Linked DNA regions of Homo sapiens: region 1 is linked to region 2. Evidence: promoter capture Hi-C in 16 types of primary human blood cells and fetal thymus (Javierre and others, 2016). All regions are on one chromosome and are shown on one strand. The core of a region is centred on a gene start or on the middle of the fragment in contact, and the rest is flanking DNA. Distances in the headings are between cores, read along the strand shown. Region 1 overlaps EPB41 (erythrocyte membrane protein band 4.1). Region 2 holds the start of GMEB1 (glucocorticoid modulatory element binding protein 1).

Region 1 (4,624 bases), core at 189-2,688, 360 kb after region 2:
AAGTGATTCTCGTGCCTCAGCCTCCCGAGTAGCTAGGATTACAAGTGCCTGCCACCACACTTGGCTAACTTTTGTATTTTTAGCAGAGACAGGGTTTCACCATGTTGGCCAGGCTGGTCCTGAACTCCTGACCTCAGGTGATCTGCCTGCCTTGGCCTGCTAAGGTGCTGGGATTACAGACGTAAGCCACCGTGCTTGGCTGGATTACTGTTACTTTTTAGAAATTTAATAAACATTTTAAATTTTCCTTAGTTAAAACAATTTTAATATAGTGAATACAAATAGCTATAAGCCACATAAAGAAAAGCTCTTGACCGGGCACAGTGGCTCATGCCTGTAATCCCAGCACTTTGGGGGGCCAAGGCAGCCAGATCACCTGAGGTCGGGAGTTCAAGACCAGCCTGACCAACATGGAGAAACCCCATCTCTACTAAAAATACAAAATCAGCCGGGCATGGTAGCACATGCCTGTAATCCCAGCTCCTCAGGAGGCTGAGGCAGGAGAATCGCTTGAACTCGGGAGGCAGAGGTTGCAGTGAACCGAGATCATGCCATTGTACTCCAGCCTGGGCAACAAAAGCAAAACTCCGTCTCAAAAAAAAGAAAAAAGAAAGAAAAGCTCTTTAGGGTCCTCAATAATTTTTACAATAATTGTTAAGAGAATAAAGAGGTCCTGAGATCAAAAAAGTTTGAGAACCACTGAGTTGGGGCAATAGGGCACCATAGTTAAAATCTTGGGCTCTGGAGTTAGCCTTTCTTTAAATTCAGACTCCATTCCTTGTTAACTGTGTGCCTCTTGGTAAGTTACTTAAGCTCTCTAAGCTTCAGTTTTTTCATCTGAAAAATAAGGGCAATAATGTGAATTTTCTAATTGTTAAATCAGAAAATTTATATAAAGTGATTAGTACAATGACAGTATATAGTGAGAGTTCAAATATCTGCTATGATAATAATAATTCTTGGCTGGGCACGGTGGCTCACACCTGTAATCCCAGCATTTTGGGAGGCCAAGGCAGGTGGATCACGAGGTCAAGAGATTGAGACCATCCTAGCCAACATGGTGAAACCCCATCTCTACTGAAAATACAAAAATTAGCTGGGCATGGTGGCGCGCACCTGTAGTCCCAACTACTCTGGAGGCTGAGGCAGGAGAATTGCTTGAACCCAGGAGGCGGAGGTTGCAGTGAGCCGAGATCATGCCACTGCACTCTAGCCTGGGTGACAAAGTAAGACTTCATCTAAAAATAAATAAATTAAAGGCCGAGCGTGGTGGCTCACACCTGTAATCCCAGCACTTTGGGAGGCTGAGGCAGGTGGATCACGAGGTCAGGAGTTCAAGACCAGCCTGGTCAAGATGGTGAAACCCTGTCTCTACTAAAAATACAAAAAATTAGCCGGGCTTGGTGGCACGCGCCTGTAATCCCAGCTACTCCGGAGGCTGAGGCAGAGAATTGCTTAAACCTGGAGGGGCGGAGGTTGCAGTGAGCCGAGATCGCACCACTGCACCCCAGCTGGGCGACAGAGCGAGACTCCGTCTCAAAAAATAAATAAATAAAAAATATAAATAAATATAAATAAAAAAAAATTCTTATCCTCACTTCACAAGTGATGAATGTATGTGTCTTGGTTTGGAGAACTAGTTTTAACCTTTATCAGAATGTAAACCCAATTAGGTGAAACAATCTCAAGGGACAAATGGATATAGTTCAGCTGATATTCTGTTAGAGATGTGGTAGAAATTGAGCAATAATGGATCGCCGTGACCAGAACATTTAGGAGTCTGTCATCTTGGAATTTACTTGCTCCTTTTTGGAAAGATTTGCAACCCTCACAAACCCAAAGGAACAATTTAATTATGTCCAACAACATGGCATTTTAACTAATCCAAAGAAACTTCCACTGAGGCATATGCATTTTACTATGCATTGGAAAGTGCAGTACAAGCACTTCTCAGATAGAAGACAGCCTGCATAAATGGAATCCTTAGTAGTGGCCCTTTGCCCAGACTGGGATTTTAAAGCTATAATTAACACTTTAAATTTACACTAGCAAATCAAGCTTTAAAATTAATTGCCCTCCATTTATTGGTATTAGGAAGGTATGTAAACTTGTCTATTGTCCCCCACTTAATTCTTTGAAATCACAATCCTTAATTAGGAGATATAACAAACATTATTAAAAGGGAGTCACATAACACTGGAACACACCGAATAGCTCTATCCTGATTGCACTTGCTTGAAATAAATGCAGGGAAACTTTATTGTAACTTCTCTTTTTAATGAGCTTTAACCAGTGCCGGAGCTTCCTGGTCAGGTACTTTTGTAAGCTGCAGTACTTACAAGTAGTAAATTATTAGGTGGTACTGAAAAAATTCAAGACAGTACTTTTAATGGTTTAGAGGTATCTAATCTCTTCCCAGCTGGTTTGTTATGACGCTCAAAGGTCTTGGAAATTTTAGGGAAAACCTTGATCATTAAAATTTAAGGCAAAAAATAATTTATTTTGTGATATTAATCTTTCAAATATATGTGTTGTGTTAACATGCACAGATGTCTGTGGGTGGTGAGATTATATATTTTCTATGCTTTTAATGATATTTTCCAAATTTTATACAGTGAATGTGTATGATTTTTATAATCAGATAAAGCTTTCTGGCAACATTAGGTGGGGCAGAGCAAGGTAGTCATCCATGCAGAGGGGCAGTCTGGCTTGGGATATTGAGGCCTAAGCAGAGTGAGGAGTGGGTCCGTGGGTTGGAGGGCAGCCTGGCATGAAGAGTCAGAGCTCAAGTGGATGAGGATGGTAGTCATGTGTGGGCACCTGGTGGTGGGTTTCAGAAGCCAAGCAGAGCAAGAAGGGCATCCATGTGGGGGAAAAGCCTACACAGGATGTGGAGGGCATCCATACAGGGTGGTGCTTGATGCACAGTGTCAAAGCCTAAGCAGGGTGAAGAGATGGTCCCACACCAGCAGTCAGAACCCTGGTGAGGTAAGGAGGACATCCACGTGTGCTGAGTAGCCCAGAATGGGGAATTCAGGGTTCAAGTAGAGTGAGGAGGACATCCACATACAGTAGGGGTTTGTGGCTGCAATGAGAGATTATATGATTATACAGAGGGATTGATCAAATTAGTCAATGTATTCAGGGTAATGGGAGCCAGGTTTCTCACTGTCAGTAAAGTGAGACACAAATTATGGAAAGGGAGAAACTAAAATGAACCCTGTTAGGATATTGCGTTAAAACTGGAGGCTTCAATGTGAACTTGTGGTTTCCAATATATAGATAGGTAGATATAGAAATATAGATGTAAAAAGGTAGATACATACACAGATACATACTCTAACTCTACATTGTGTCAGAAGGAAGTACTGGAAGAATGATGGGAAATGGTCAGAAGGACACAGAATCCAGCTTGGAGAGGTTCCCACTACCAAATCTGGGGCAATTTAAGCATCAAAATAGATAAGGAAAATAATTGATATACTGCATTGAATAAAATGAAAATTCGTGAGTCCATACTGACATAAATAAATAAATTGAAATTTTAAGGCTGGGCATGGTGGCTCATGCCTGTAATTCCAGCACTTTCAGAGGCTGAGGTGGGCTGACTGCTTGAGCCCAAGAGTTCACTTGAACCTGGGAGGTCAAGGCTGCAGTGAACCATGATGGTGCCACTGCACTCCAGTCTGGGTGACAGAGCAAGACCTTGTCTCTTAAAAAAAATTTTTTTTGGCTCACACCTTTAATCCCAGCACTTTGGGAGGCTGAGTTGGGCAGATCACGAGGTGAGGAGTTTGAGATCAGCCTGGCCAATATGGTGAAACCCCATCTCTACTAAAAATACAAAAATTAGCCAGGCATGGTGGCGGGTGCCTGTAGTTCCAGCTACTTGGGAGGCTGAGGCAGAAAAATCACTTGAACCCAGGAGGCAGAGGTTGCAGTTAGCCGAGATCATACCACTGCACTCCAGCCTGGGCAACGGAGTGGGACTCCATCTCAAAAAAAAAAAAAAAATTCTTAAGTTAGAATTACATTTTTTTAAGAATTGTAAAGGGACCTTGTTATGTTGTGCAACCTGAACAACCTGAAGTGCAGTGCTATTTACAGGTGTGATTGTAACTCACTTACAGCCTTAAACTCAAGCAATCTACCTGCCTCAGCCTCCCAAGTAGCTGTGACTACAGGTCACTGCACCCAGCTAAAATTATTCTTTTTCTTTTTTTAGAGACAAGGTCTCTCAACATTTTTTTTTTTTTTGAGATGGAGTTTCATTCGTTGCCCAGGCTGGAGTGCAATGGCGCAATCTCGGCTCACCGAAACCTCTGCCTCCCAGGTTCAAGCGATTCTCCTGCCTCAGCCTCCCAAGTAGCTGGGATTACAGGCATGTGCCACCACGCCCGGCTAATTTTGTACTTTTAGTAGAGATGGGGTTTCTCCATGTTGGTCAGGCTGGTCTCAAACTCCCAACCTCAGGTGATCCGCCCACCTCGGCCTCCCAAAGTGCTGGGATTATAGGCATGAGCCACCGCGCCTGGCTGAGACAAGGTCTCTCTATGTCGCCTAGGCTCATAGACTCAAGCAATCCTCCTGTCTCAGCCTCCAGAGTAGCTAGGACTATAGGTGC
Region 2 (4,390 bases), core at 1,296-3,795:
GGGCGTGGTTGTGCAAGCCTATAGTCTCAGCTACTCGGGAAGTCAAGATTGGAGGATCACTTGTGCCCAGGAGGAGACTCTATCCTCCAAAATAACTAAATAAAAATAAATGGCCAGGCACGGTGGCTCACGCCTGTAATGCCAGCACTTTGGGAGACTGAGGCAGGAGGATCACGAGGTCAAGAGATTGAGACCATCCTGGCCAACATGGTGAAACCCTGTCTCTACCAGAAATACAAAAATTGGCTGGGCGCGATGGCTCATGCCTGTAATCCCAGCACTTTGGGAGGCCAAGGCAGCAGATCATGAGGTCAAGAGATCGAGATCATCCTGGCCAACACGGTGAAACCCCGTCTCTACTAAAAATACAAAAAATTAACCAGGCGTGGTGGCTCGTGCTTGTAGTCCCAGCTACTCGGGAGGCTGAGGCAGGAGAATCGCTTTAACCTGGGAGGCAGCCAAGATCGCACCACTGCACAGACCGAGACTCCGTCTCCAAATCAATCAATCAATAAACAAACAATTATGGTGGCTCACACCTGTAATCCCAGCACTTTGGGAGGCCAAGGCAGGAGGATTGCTTGAGCCCAGGAGTTAGAGACCAGAGTGGGCAACATGGTAAAACCCCATTTCTACTAAAAATGTAAAAATTAGCCAGGCATGGTGGTTCCTGCTTGTGGTCCCAGCTACTCCGGGGGCTGAGGCAGGAGGACTGCTTGAGCACTGGAGGCTGGGGCTGCAGTGAGCCGAGATCCCGCCACTGCACTCAGCCTGGGAGATCAACCCAGACCGGTCCCCCCCACCAAAAAAAAGAAAAAAAGAAAGAAAAGAAAAGAAGGGCCGGGCGCGGTGGCTCACGCCTGTAATTCAACACTTTGGGAGGCTGAGGCGGACGGATCACAAGGTCAGGAGATCGAGACCATCCTAGCTAAGACGGTGAAACCCTGTCTCTACTAAAAAATACAAAAAAATTAGCCAGGCGTAGTGGCGGACGCCTGTAGTCCTAGCTACTGAGGAGACTGAGGCAGGAGAATGGTGTGAACCCAGGAGGCGGAGCTTGCAGTGAGCCGAGATTGCGCCACTGCACTCCGGCCTGGGCGACAGAGCAAGACTCCGTCTCAAAAAAAAAAAAAAAGAGAAACTTACTTAGTAGGGTTGCTGTGAGGATTATACAAGACAGAAGCATCTTCACCAAGCCATAGGCCATAGAAAGGTCTTTTTGTTTGTTTGTTTTTTGAGATAGAGTCTCACTCTGTTGCCCAGGCTGGAGTGCAATGGCCTGATCTCGGCTCACTGCAACCTCCGCCTCCCGGGTTCAAGTGATTCTCCTGGCTCAGCCTTCTGAGTAGCTGGGACTAGAGGCGCGTGCCACGACGCCCGGCTAATTTCTGTATTTTTAGTAGAGACGGGGTTTCACCATGTTGCCCAGGCTGGTCTCGAACTCCTGGTCTCAAGTGATCTGTCCGCCTCGGCTTCCCAAAGTGTGGGATTACAGGCGTAAGCCACCACACCTGGCCATAGAAAGGTCTTAATACGGCCGGGCGCGGTGGCTCACGCCTGTAATCCCAGCTCTTTGGGAGGCCCAGGCGGGTGGATCATGAGGTCAGATATTGAGACCATCCTGGCCAACATGGTGAAATCCTGTCTTTACTAAAATACAAAAAAAAAAAAAAATTGCCGGGCGTGGTGTCGCGCGCCTCTAGTGCCAGCTCTTCGGGAGGCTGAGGCCGGAGAATCACTTGAACCCAGGAGGCTGAAGCTGCAGTGAGCCGAGATCGCGCCACTGCACTCCAGCCTGGCCAAAGAGCAAGACTCTGTCTAAAAAAATAAATAAATAAATAAAAAATAAAGGTCTTAATACTTGTTAATTACTATTACTGACCCCAGGAACTCTCTGAAGCACTTTTCATGCAGGTATCACCTTCTTTAGCACTCACATTATGTCTTATCGGAAACAGGTTTAGAGCTGTCAAGAAATTCCTCCAGAGTCGTTTACACTTCCAGCAGGGGAGTCAAGACTTCAACCCAGAAACTCACAAGCAGGAAAAACTTGGCAAACAGGCACGGGTCAGACAATGCTTAGGGCTTGCTCAAGGACTCGTGACCAGTTACTGATCTATGCAGATCTTCTGATTGCAAACTGATAGCTGGATTGTAACTTGAAGGGTCCGATAAGATGTAAACTTCATAAAACAGGATTTGGGGAGGTAAATGGAGTAGAGTCCTCCAGAGGAGTCGAGAAAGCTAGCTTGGCCCTCAATTGTGGTTGAGGTGATTCTTTCATTTAGGGCCTATTTTCCTCATCTATGAGTGCGGGAAGGAGAGTTACTGGGGTCTCTAGCGACCTTTCCAACACTGATTTTCAAGGGCGAAAGAATTCTGCTTAGGTAAGGCCCAAATCCCTTGGCTAAGGTTAATCCTCGGTGGGACCGGCAATAGGGACGCGTCCCCTTTAAGGCGCCAGCTCTCCGGCGGCGGCGGCCGGAAGTGTTGAAGCCCGGCCTGGCGGCGGCGGTGGCGGTAGCTGCCGTGGCGGCCTCTGCGCATGCTCCGTCGCCTGCCCGCCCTGGCCGCTCGCCGCCCGCCCGCCCGACGGAGACGGTGAGGAGGGGGAGGGGTGGGCGCGCGGGCGCGGGGTGGGGTGGGGGCGGGGGGGCGGGCGCGGGGGCCGCGCGGCGGCCGGCGAGGGCGGGCGGGCGCGCAGGGGGCGGGGGGCTGCTGCCTCCGCGGGCGCCTCCCCACGCCCTGTGCGTGCCGCCGCCGCCGCCGGGGAGCGAGCGGACGTCGCGGCGCCGCGGGGGGGTGGGGGGACGCTGCCGCTGGGTCCGCCCGAGCCGCCGGGCCGCCCCCAGCGCAGCCGGCCGCGCCGCCGGGGCTCGGGCCCCAGACCAGGGCGGCGGGAACCGGCGAGTCCACCACTGGGGGGGCCCCGGCGCCCCCGGACCGAGGGGCCCGGAAGTACTCGGCTCAGGGGCCAGGAGGGGCCGGAGTGACTCCGGACTGAGAGGGCCAGGCGCCCAGGACCCCATCGAGGGGTCCGGGGAGCCTGGGGTATCCCCAAAGGCGGGGTCCGGGGAGCACCGGGCCCTTGGATGAGGAGCTGGTTGGAGGCCTGGGTCCTGCCCAGTGGGAGGGGGACGATAGGTGCTGGAAGCCCGGATGCCCGCCTGGGAGGAGACCCTCTCGGAGCCTTGGCGGGAGAGCAAGAGTACAGAGTGGGTTCTTCTGAGGAGAGCAGAGTCCAGCTTATCCCGAGGGGCGCGGTAGAGGCCTCGGCCACTCAGAACAAGGGAAAAAAGGGCAGGTTTTTTCCAAAGGCAGGGAAGGAAGAGGAGCTCTAAGGGGAAGTGAGCAGGCCCAGGTCTCCCCACAGATGAGCGCGTGGTAGGAAGACTCCTAGAGCCTCCTGAAGTACGAAAGAGCAGCGTCCAAACCTGAGGGGATGGAAGGTGTCTAGGTGCCTCTTGATGTCTAGGTGGAGAACAAAGTAACCCGCTCGGTCAGGGGATGGAGAAACCTATCTTTTTGAGAGAAGCAGAGATCGTTGAGGAAAGATGCTTAAGGTGTTCCCGCTTTCTGAAATGACAGGAATTGGCCAGGTGTTATCTAATTGAGGGGCAGGAGAGATGAAGGCAAAATCTCAACCCGAGGGTCTTTGGAGGATGATCCACAAGACAAGAGGGTGAAGTCTTGACCTAGACAGCAGAGCAGGCGCAGCCCTGGATTCTCTCAAGATGAGAGAAATCTCAAAACCACTTCCTAGTAGACACAGATGGGGCCTTGATTGGTGTCTGTTTAGGCCAATCAAGACGGGTTTTAGGAAAAGAGACTGTCAGACATAATTCTAGTCTTGAGGGATTATCTTCTTCCTCCTTGCCTCTTCTAATAGTTACCAAAGTGCATTTGGGGACCCTTTTTATTTATTTATTTATTTATTTGTTTTTTGAGACGGAGTCTCACTCTATCGCCCAGGCTGGAGTGGTGGCTCACTGCAACTTCCGCCTCCTGGGTTCAAACGATTCTCCTGCCTCAGCCTCCCGAGTAGCTGGGACTACAGGCGCGTGCCACCACACCAGCCAATTTTGTTGTTGTTGTTGTTGTTGTTTGAGACGGAGTTTCACTCCTGTTGCCCAGACTGGAGTGCAATGGCGCGATCTCAGCTCACTGCAACCTCCGCCTCTTGGGTTCAAGCGATTCTCCTGCCTCACCCTCCCGAGTAGCTGGGGCTACAGGCGCCCGCCACCACACCCAGCTAATTTTTGTATTTTTAATAGAGACGGGGTTTCACCATGTTGGCCAGGCTGGTCTCGAACTCCCAACCTCAGGTGATCCCACATCCTCAGCCTCCCAGAGTACTGGGATTACAGGCGTGAATCACTGCGCCTGGCCC

Evidence for each region. Contacts are between HindIII fragments. The CHiCAGO score rates a contact against its expected background, and 5 or more counts as called.
Region 1: a contact is called between a fragment that was not itself captured here and the fragment with the promoter of GMEB1 in region 2, in 3 of 17 cell types (M2 macrophages, naive B cells and monocytes). The highest score is 7.3, in M2 macrophages.

The regions. Positions count from the first base shown.
Region 1 is chr1:29,023,094-29,027,717 of GRCh38, forward strand. The region is part of intron 7 of EPB41 (erythrocyte membrane protein band 4.1); the gene reads left to right. Among named protein-coding and RNA genes, the nearest start is that of TMEM200B, 98 kb to the right of the region's middle. The HindIII fragment of the contact is 1,236 bases long and covers 821-2,056 here.
Region 2 is chr1:28,666,239-28,670,628 of GRCh38, forward strand. GMEB1 (glucocorticoid modulatory element binding protein 1) reads left to right here and starts at 2,546. Exons shown (of 10, transcript NM_001319674.2): 1 at 2,546-2,601. RefSeq lists silencers at 2,518-2,657, 2,688-2,797, 2,808-3,097 and enhancers at 3,628-3,677, 3,728-3,787. The HindIII fragment of the contact is 26,935 bases long and covers 1-4,390 here.